Linked DNA regions of Homo sapiens: region 2 is linked to region 1. The links are contacts of gene promoters, found by promoter capture Hi-C in human tissues and cell types (Jung and others, 2019). All regions are on one chromosome and are shown on one strand. The core of a region is centred on a gene start or on the middle of the fragment in contact, and the rest is flanking DNA. Distances in the headings are between cores, read along the strand shown.

What was found. The method cuts DNA at HindIII sites, captures the fragments that hold promoters and counts their contacts. A contact is called where the count stands out against the background at its distance.
Region 2: a contact is called between a fragment that was not itself captured here and the fragment with the promoter of AGBL4 in region 1, in 1 of the 25 tissues and cell types used here (mesenchymal stem cells).

What each region holds. Positions count from the first base shown.
Region 1 is chr1:50,021,778-50,026,624 of GRCh38, forward strand. AGBL4 (AGBL carboxypeptidase 4) reads right to left here and starts at 2,177. Exons shown (of 14, transcript NM_032785.4): 1 at 1,986-2,177. The coding sequence starts at 2,019. LOC105378708 (a long non-coding RNA gene) reads left to right here and starts at 2,244. Exons shown (of 3, transcript XR_947311.3): 1 at 2,244-2,345. The HindIII fragment of the contact is 7,609 bases long and covers 1-4,847 here.
Region 2 is chr1:48,828,132-48,832,978 of GRCh38, forward strand. The region is part of intron 6 of AGBL4 (AGBL carboxypeptidase 4); the gene reads right to left. Among named protein-coding and RNA genes, the nearest start is that of BEND5, 54 kb to the left of the region's middle. The HindIII fragment of the contact is 3,158 bases long and covers 730-3,887 here.

The sequences.
Region 1 (4,847 bases), core at 927-3,426:
TGTAGCCAGAGTTATTTTTTAATTATTCTAATCATGGCATGCTCCCACTTAAAAGCCTTCAATGGCTTCCCATTATTCTTAGGATTTCTGACCCAAATTCATATCATATTCTACAAAGTACTGGAAGATCTGGCTTCAGCGTACCTCTTCTCTCTTCCCATTGCCCCACATGTACCCACACTTGTCTCCTTTCAGTTCCTCAAACACAGCATAACATGTTTCCACCTGCTTGGGTTCTTTGCACATGGTTTTCCTGCTGCCTCGACCACTCTTTGCCCTTTTTTTCAATTATCCAATCCCTATCATATGTCAGCTAAAATATCACTTCCAGACAATATCAGTAATTCAGTTATTCATTTAAGAAATCTTTATTGAGAACATACTATACACTTAGAAAAGTTCTAGACATGTGGTATTGATAAAACAATGCCCTTGTAGAGCTTACATTGTAGTGGAAGGAGACAGGAAATAAGCAATACAAGCAAGTAAATTAAATAGTATGTTCAAAGGCAATAAATGCTATGAGAAAAAAAGGAAAAGAAGAACAAGGTAAGCTCATCCAAAGCAGGGAATTTCCAATGCCTAACTTATTGCCAGGCATATAGTTAGCACTCGATATTTGTTGAGTGGATGAATGAATAAAGGAATAAGCCTGTTCAAGTTATGAGGGAGCTAAAACTATAAAATGAGTAGAGGAGCTACTCAATAAAACAGAGGTGCCATGAAAGAAAGAGAAATAATGAAGGCCTTGAGACATAATGGTTCCTCGAACTTATTTCTGAGGGTGTCATAGTTTTCAGTTCCAGTTTCTGGGGTGTGGTGTGTATGTACCATAACCACACACACACACACACACACACACACACACACACACACACACACACCAGGACCAAAGTAATTCAAGTGGATCACTCTTGTAATGATAATACCTGATCAGGACATATATACAAGGTTATGTATACCACTGCCAACACCCATCACACACATATTCCCAAAGCCACTTCTTTTCTACCCACACACCCATGCCATCCCGTAACATCCAGTTCTTCAGTGGTCAGCCTCATTTAGAGGCAAACTCCCTCCCACATACTCAAAACTGTAAAAACCTTTGCTTTCTTCTATGACCCTGTGAGAAACTTAAAGTCAGTATCTCACAAATCCCAGCCATATGCACAAGGGGTCCCCTCAGGAATAGGATCCTGGGTCTCCCTTCCTGTCAGTCTTCCTGTCCCTTAAAGGCTATCTTCTACCCACAGAAGTGTGGACATGCACTCCTTTGATTCTGAATGACCTTCAAGATCATTGAACCCACACACACTCACACTCACGCTCCAGCCTCCTTTGGTAGGCTCCTAAAGGACTGGGGCTCCGGGTATCCCCTCAAGGCCTCTTGTCTTTTTAAGGACCCATACAAGAATTATTTGCATAAATTTCTCTGTGACCAGGAGTGACCCTGAGGACACTGCACATCCCCAAACACAAATACTCTAACTCCCCCTTCCATGGCACTGTCTGATATTAAAGTAACACACCTTCCACGTATACCTCCCTCTTTAGAGTCAGAGCCTCCTACTCCCACCCCGAGCCCAAATCATGCCCCTTTAGGGATCTCTCCCATGCTCCCACAGGGCAGTGTACACCCTTTCCATGACACAGCCTAGCCCTAGGATTAGCCTTCACCACAGGTGATCCCAGGATTAAGATCCTGTCTCTTCCCTCAGGTCCCAGCCCCTTTCGGGCCCATGTTCTGTCAGAAGTGTGCACACTAACCCACACTCCCCTCCACCACCCGGACTTCGAGGTCCCTGCCCGCCATTCAGAGGGGTGCACGCCACCCTTGACCCCTGACCCTGAAGTCATAACCCACCGCGCAAATATACAGGACCGCCTCCTCAGGAGTAGGACCATGCCCGAGTCCCCTGTTGCCTGAGACCCAGGACAGCCTGGCCGCCTCAGCCTTCCCCAGATCGGCCGCCCCCACAGACCTGCCTCAGGCGCCGACTGGCTCCCCTCCGCCATTTTTGTTGTCCCTCAGTCTCCGAGCTCACGCGAAGACCGCGGGGCAGTAGGGAGCGGGTGGTGGGATCAGTGGGCTGACAGGAGCTACCTCAGGAAGACGCGGCACGACGGTTGCCTGGGCAACGGGCGGCAGGCGCGCGGGTGGCCGGCGCGCGGCTGAGGGCGGGAGGGACGCCTGGGAGGAGCGTGCGTCCAAGGCCCCGCCCCCGCGGCGCGAGCCCGGGCCTGAGCTGGGACTTGGGCCCCGGGGCGCTGCTCCTCCGCAACCGATCCACCGCATCCTGGCAACTGAGCAGGCTCCGCCACCCCTAGAGCACAGGGGCCAGGTCTGTAGGGATGGCGCTTTCCTGACGGCGACCGGGGTCCTCGTACTGACCGCCCAGACTAGCTAAACTGGCTTTTCTGTGGTTGGTGCTCAACTTTGGGGACTTGGGACAGGTTTCTTGATTTCCCAAAGCTTCTCCCCTTGGTTTGCCTGGGTTACTCGTCTTCAACTGAAATGCACTGAAAACCAACTGTGTGCCCACCCCAACCCAAACACACAGAGGCCCAAAGGGTTCTGGCTCCTTGCCCCTCTGCGACAGCAACCCTCAACCCCAGAAAAGACTTATCCTTTTGCTGACGTATTTTTCAGTAAATATGGGCTGCTGTTTCCCACCTTTCAGTAGTGACACGCCGTTATCGTCTAAAACCAAGCTGGAACATTACCCGTCCTGACCAGCTCTGCCCTCCCGCAGTCCCCTGTATATTCCCTCTATTCCAAATGCTTTATGCATTATTTCCTTCTCGACCATGAGCTCTCTGATACCTACGGTTGTTCTCTTATCTTTGTATACTCCATAGTGCAGCGTGGTGCATGACACAAAGTAGGATCTCAGTCAATGTCTGCTGAATGGAAAATGGTGGTAATCTGAAAGGAAATGAGGTGGAGAGAGTGAAAGAGGGAAGGGGGAAAAACGCTAAGAAAAATGTGTTATTGAGCTGATTGCTTTAGTAGACAACTATTTTTAATCTTGCTTCAGACTCTGAAAAACAGGGTAGAATGTGTGCCTGCCGTTGTCCCACTGAAGAACACAGAGTCTGGGGCATTTGTCTCCTAATTTCTGTCTCCATTGGTTGAGGGTTGCTCTCCACCTTCCAGCTTGAACTCTCTCACATTTCCTGGTTATGCTTGCCAGGGCTGAGCAGACTTCTAGAGTTTGAGAGAAAGCCTTGAGGCAGAAATGCAGAGACGGACCGGAAGGCCTTCTAAGTAAGATGCTGGCCACATGCATGGAACTGTCCATTCATCTGCATTAAAATCAGGGATAAGAATCTTGTACAGAAAGTTACATGAAAATAGCTATCAGAATTATCTCTCACATTTGAACAGTTTAAAATTCACAAGCCATGTCCACACAACTATCAAGATGAATATATATGTGCTTTCCACAGTCCTAATGACACTTATGTAAAGGCTGTGAGGGTTTTGGGAATTTCGGTGTCGGAGGAGTCAATAAGGGCTAAGAAGAACAAAAGAACTACATTAAGTATAGGGAGATGGAAAAATAAAGAGAAAGATGTGGGTTCTACTCAGACTGATGTTATAGCTTTATAATCTTGGGCAAATCACTTAAACTTACTGAGCCTCAGTTTCCTCTTCCAACAAACTGAGACAAAGGTCCTGCCTACCACAAAGAGTAGCTCTAAGACACAAATAGGGTGATGAATGAAAATGCATTTGATGAGTATGAGCCAGGCTCTGTGCAGATGCTGAGGATAAAGAGACAAATATAACATTATTAAATTGAACCACATTGGTCAATTTAAATTTTAAGTAAAATTTAGAACTCAGTTATTTAATCAGAATTGCCACTTTTCAAGTGCTCAATAGCTACATGTGGCTACTGGCTACCATATTGGACAACATATGTATAGAACATTTCCATCACTGCAGAAAGTTTTGTTAGTCAGAATTGATAGACAAATGCCTTACTGGGCAGAGGAGACGAAAAGCCTGGAAAACCAGCTTGCTGACAGGACCAGGTTCGGTTCTCCTCTGTGTCAGCTATTCCTCAGGAAGCAGTGCAGGAGGGAGTATAGACTTCTTCACTACTGCTGGAGTCTTCAGAGACTTCCCTTTTGTTGTGTGAAAAATAACACAGCATGGGAAGTGGGGGGAAAACGTCCCCTACATGGGCTCCTGGGAATTAGTTTCCCCGTGCTACCATTCATATGTCCCTGGGAGGTCTGTCTTCCCCAGAGACCTCCTATGATTTCTGTCTCCACAGAAAACACCCACCCACAACAAGGGTGCCTTCTTTCAAGCAAAATATACCCTGTAGGATTCACCCACTCCCTCCATAAACATTCATTAAAATGATACCTTCCATGTGCCTGGCCACTAAGTTAGATGCAGAATGGAATGAGAGAAATATTTAATTTATAATCATATTTTTACGAGCACAAACTCATTTCATTCTCAGAGCAGCATTATGATATTTGTATTAATATCAGCCTCTTGTACAGAAGATGAAATTGAGGCTCACAGAGTTTAAGTGACTTATACAAAGTTTCAGGCAGAAAGTAGCAGACTCAGGGAAGACTGAAATTATGCTAGGAAATTCATCTGTGTTATCTCATGTAATTTTCACATCAAAAATACCATGCCTTTGAAGTTTACAAACTAATTGGAAAGAAAGGATTAACATGCACAAATTCAGTTTACAATTAATTTCCAAACAATGTGGTAAGAGCAATGACACAGGCATGCTCAGCAAAGTGGAGGAGCACTAAAGAGAGATCCCCTTGATGGGCATCTATAGCCACAGCCCACCAGAAGTATTCAA
Region 2 (4,847 bases), core at 1,059-3,558, 1.2 Mb before region 1:
GTTGCAGTGAGCCAAGATTGCGCCACTGTACTCCAGCCTGGGCAACTCCATCTCAAAAAAAAAAAAAAAGAAAAAAAGAAAATGGGGTTCAAATCTCTCCCACCTCATGCCAAAACATCAGACAGTAGAAGAGAGAAGACGGATTACTCCCCTCCTACCACCATAGAGGTGTCTCTGGCAGCAGCTGAGTCTCCTCCATTGCTCTAGCACTTGCTGGATAGAGCCATGGAGGTTGCCAAGGCTCTATCTTTTGCTAGGTAACCATGGCTCCTAGGATCCAGTGCCACCTGTTCTCCCTTTGACCCTTATGCCCAGGGTGAGAGTATCTTCCTATTGTTGCTAATCTCTGAGTTTCTTTACCATTTCCTGTTTGGCTTCTCAACTGGTGCCAGTTCCCTGCATTGAATCCTCTTTGTTTCAAATATTTGGAGTGATTTTTTTTCTTGGTTATGTACTGACTGATACATTCAGATTTAGATGAAACTAAAAAATATCATGGAAATAATACATGATAACAACTCAGTCAAAACTATTAACTGTGCAACAGTAATGCTTGTTCACAACAGGTTGTGTTAAGGATAATTCTAGGCTGCCAGTTCTGCCAGTTAAAATCCATTACTTAGCTCTAGTTATAACTCAACTCCCTTTTTTTCCTCTCATATTTGAATTGTAAGAAAATGAAGAGTGACATTATCATTATCATAGAAGTAACTTTAAATCTGCTTTACCTCATATAAAAAAGTAGATCATTTGCAAACCTTGGTATTTTCACTATTCTTAGCATTGTGTACGTGTGTGTGTGTATGTGTGTAAGATATCTCACAACCATTGCTCTTTGCTATGATGCCTTCCAAAATAAAGGGTTGTTGAGATAGAATAGATCTTTAGTTTTGGCCATTCTGAGTCTGGAACTAGAGTGTCCAAGGTCTAAGATGAACCCAGTGACAGCTTACACTTCTCTTTTTGGGAGCTTGTTCCTGCCACTCATCATCAGAAACAGTCATGAGCACTTGCCATATGCCAGGCATTGTGGTCTTAGTGTGGACATAAGAGCTTGGTGGACCATCATAAACCATCAGAGCTACTTTATCAGGAAACTGAGTCACAGAGAAATTAAAGAACTATACCAGGATCGCATAGATAGTAAAAGGACAGTGTTGAGATGTGATCCTAGTCAGTCTGGCTCCAGAGTTACAGCCTATGCCGTTGGCCACAATGCTTTAATGCCTCTCTATAGAGCAGTCTTGTCTGCCTGGTGGCCCACTAGGACCCTCATTCAGTGTACCATGACCTCTGTTTCTCCCCTTTCAGTCTCCTTTCCAAAGGCATCATATATCCCCCCATTACTGAGATAGGAATGTGCACATTTTATAATCATGCCATTGGAAAAGTATAAGTTCTGCCCTATGGGGTGAAGGAGGGGATCAAAAAGGTTCTGTCTCATATTATTCCTCCTCACCCTTGAATATAACCAGTCAGAGAGAGGCTGAAACATCTCTCAGGGGAAGAGACTGAAGAACAGAAAATAGGGTAGTTGGAAGAATTTGTTTTTCCAGGAGTTAAACCACTTTGGAATGGAAAGCAGGAAAAAAAAAACCCACAAAAATGATTTTCTGCTTTTTTTTAAACTTAAAATTATGGAAATTGTTTCTGACAGCAAATTGCTCCTAATTAATTTCTTGGCTCTGCTGGGAAAATGTACTGTTCTGTTGATTTCTAAATTCCACCAGCTTAATTATCAAAATACATTTTTTTTCATAAAACTATTAACATGTGGGGTTGCAGTTAGGGGGCTGTCAGCATAGTGCAAAGGAAAAAGAGAGAGTAGGGGAGCAAGGGTTGGATGAGCACCAGGAGGCCTAGAGACTCAACTCAAGGCTTGGTACCCATGTTCCAAAGTCTGGGAGAAGGTAGCAGCCACAGGAAAAGAGGTCTTAATGATGCAGGCAGAATCACAATGCAGGGAGTGCCTGGGAATGAAGTTGGGAGATCTGGATTCAAATTCCATCTATACTACTTACCTTAGACAAACAGTTGAATTTTTGCTGCGCCTCAGTCGTTTCTATAAAATGAGGCTAGAAATAATGTTAATTAACATTTGTAGAACTCTTGCTATATGCCAGGCAGTATCCCAAGTGTTTCTATGTGCATTCACATGCCATTCTTCTCCACAGCCCTGTGAAATAGGCATTGCAACTCTACTTTACAGATGAGAAAACACAAGTTCAGAGGGGTCATACAAATTGCCTGAGGTTATACATGTTAAGAACCAAGTAGCCAGGATCACTGGTAAGAGAAAATGAGTTTCTAGCTTAGTGCCAAACTATTGCCTAACCTGTCTGTCTTCCTCATTAGACTGAGAGCCTCTTGAGGTCAGGGGACCAATTCCCCCGATTTTGTATCCACAATGTAGGTAATGTCTGATAAGTTAATAAATGAATGAACAAATGGTTTAGATGCTCAATTAGATACTGGCAGAATTCAAATCTGGAATCAGTTAATTTGGTGCCATTCAAGAAAAACATTCAATTTCAGTCACTTGGTAGATGTTAATCAAATATCTGCTGTATGCCAGTCACTGAGCTAATCAATAAATAACTTTGGGCACCTAGCAATTTTGCTTTTGGGAATAGATCATAAGAAAATATTTGGATAATTGTATAAAAATGGAAGAATAAAGCTGTTCATCACAACATTATTTCATTTTTTTTAAACGTAAAAGTTCATTCATCTAACAAATATTGCTGAGGGCCTGCTACATACCAAGCATTGTTCTAGACATTCCCATTGAACAAGACAAACAAGGTCCCTGTCCCCATCAACTCACAATCTTGTGGGGAAGATAGAGAAAACCCAAATGGTTATATAATGTCAGGTAGCAATGAGACCTGTGAAGTAAAAGGGAGCATTTTCGGGTAAGGAAATGAACTGTGAAAGGAATTAATTTTTGGATTGGGGCTCAGTAAAAGTCTCTCTGAGGAGAGGCCATTTGAGTCATTCTTAATGACATGAGGGAGTGAACCATATGAACATCTGGGAAGATTAGTGTAGAGGGCAGAAGTATAGTCTATAAGCTTGTTTTCTTTGTGACCTTGGGCAAGTCACCTCAGCTCTCTGGCCCTCTGGGCTGGAAGAACTAAGTCCCTCTCCTCCATCCTTCCAGCTATGATCCAGGCGCTCCTCCCTCCTACTGGGGCCCAGAACAAGGTTCCATATCTGAGAGAGCCTCTTGTTACCAAAATATTTTGCAAAATCCCAAGTGCTACAGAGATGTAAGTCAGATGCAAGTTAATCCTACCTCTCTGCTGAAGCCAAGTTCGACTATTACTTCCTTTCTGAAGCCTTGCCTTACTTTGTCGGGAAGGATGTCTCTGGGCTCCCTTTATACTTTTTATGCACCTCTGCTGTAACATTTAGTTTTTTGCAGCATATGATTTTTTAACTTCTTGAAGCAAGGACAATGTATCCTTTGTTTCTGAATCATAGCCACTAACTCAGTGCTTGGCACATGGTAGTACTTAATATGGGATAGCTGAATTAACTTGAAAGGGCATTTGTGGATTGAGCAAGATTTTGACATGAGTTGGGTGAGGTTTTTAGTTACATTGAAATCTATTCTCTCATACATAATCGGTACACAATAAAAACTCACTGAATGAATAAACACATGTTGTGAAAAGCAGTTTCTTTTTGCTGAGTGAGGATTACCTCATCTCTGCAAGGAAATCCATGTTTTGACAGTAATCAGACCTGGCAATACAGGGATATAGAGTGGGGACAAGTGGAGGGATGTGAGAAAGATTCACCTTCATTACAGATCTACTTTAGCAGGCAATGTGTTAGGTAGAACACTGAATCATTATCCCAGTTGATCCTCAGAACAACCCTGAGGGTACTTTTTAATTATCCCCATTTTATAAGTGAAGAAAAATGAGTCAGAGAGATTAAGGCATTACTTTCATACACAAAGTAGAAGGGGTGCAGTAGGATCAAGAAGTCAGGAGTGTCTGGCATAATGTCCTTGCTCCCCAGAGCCCTTGGCACTGAAGGTGGTTGGGGAAACACTGGAAAATGCTTGGGGTTTCCTCTCCTGGAGCTGCATCCGCTCACTGGCACTTACATAAGGAGATGGTTGCTGTTTTTAGAAGGTACTCATAGACTCATAGTCACACAAATAAACATCCTAATACTTTAGCGAGTTGATGGACCTGCCGTGTGAATTCTGCACAGCTCAGACTCCATCTCAGGGGAGAACATGGCTTTCTAAGGTAATCATGTTTTCTCTGCTCTAATGGCATCAATAACCTTTCCCTCTTATTGTTGCCACAAAGTTTTTCAAGGTACTCGCTAGGTTGTGAGTACCTTGAGGTTCAGGGCTTGGAATTCTTGCCCCTCTTGTGGGTAGCTCAGAGCCTGGCACAAAGAGGACCTCAAATTATTGCAAATAAAAGGAAAGAGACTGTGATGGTTAATTTTATGTGTCAACTTGACTGGATCACGGAGTGCCCAGATATTTGCTTGAATGTTATTTCTGGGCATGCCTATGTGGGTGTTTCTGGATGAGATTAATATTCAATTAATAGACTAAGTAAAGTAGATTGTCCTCTCTGGTGTGGGTGAGCCTCATTCAATCTGTTAAGAGCCTGGATAGAATAAAAAGGCAGAGAAAGGGAAAATTTGCTCTCTTCCTGAGTGCCTAAGCTTACACATCTTCTCCTGTCCTCAGACTCTGACTTATACCATTGGCTGTCCTGGTTCTCAGACCTTTGGACTTGGATAAGAATTTACACCATCAGTTCTGGTTCTCAGGCCTTCAGACTCAAACTGGAGCTACATCACCAGCTCTC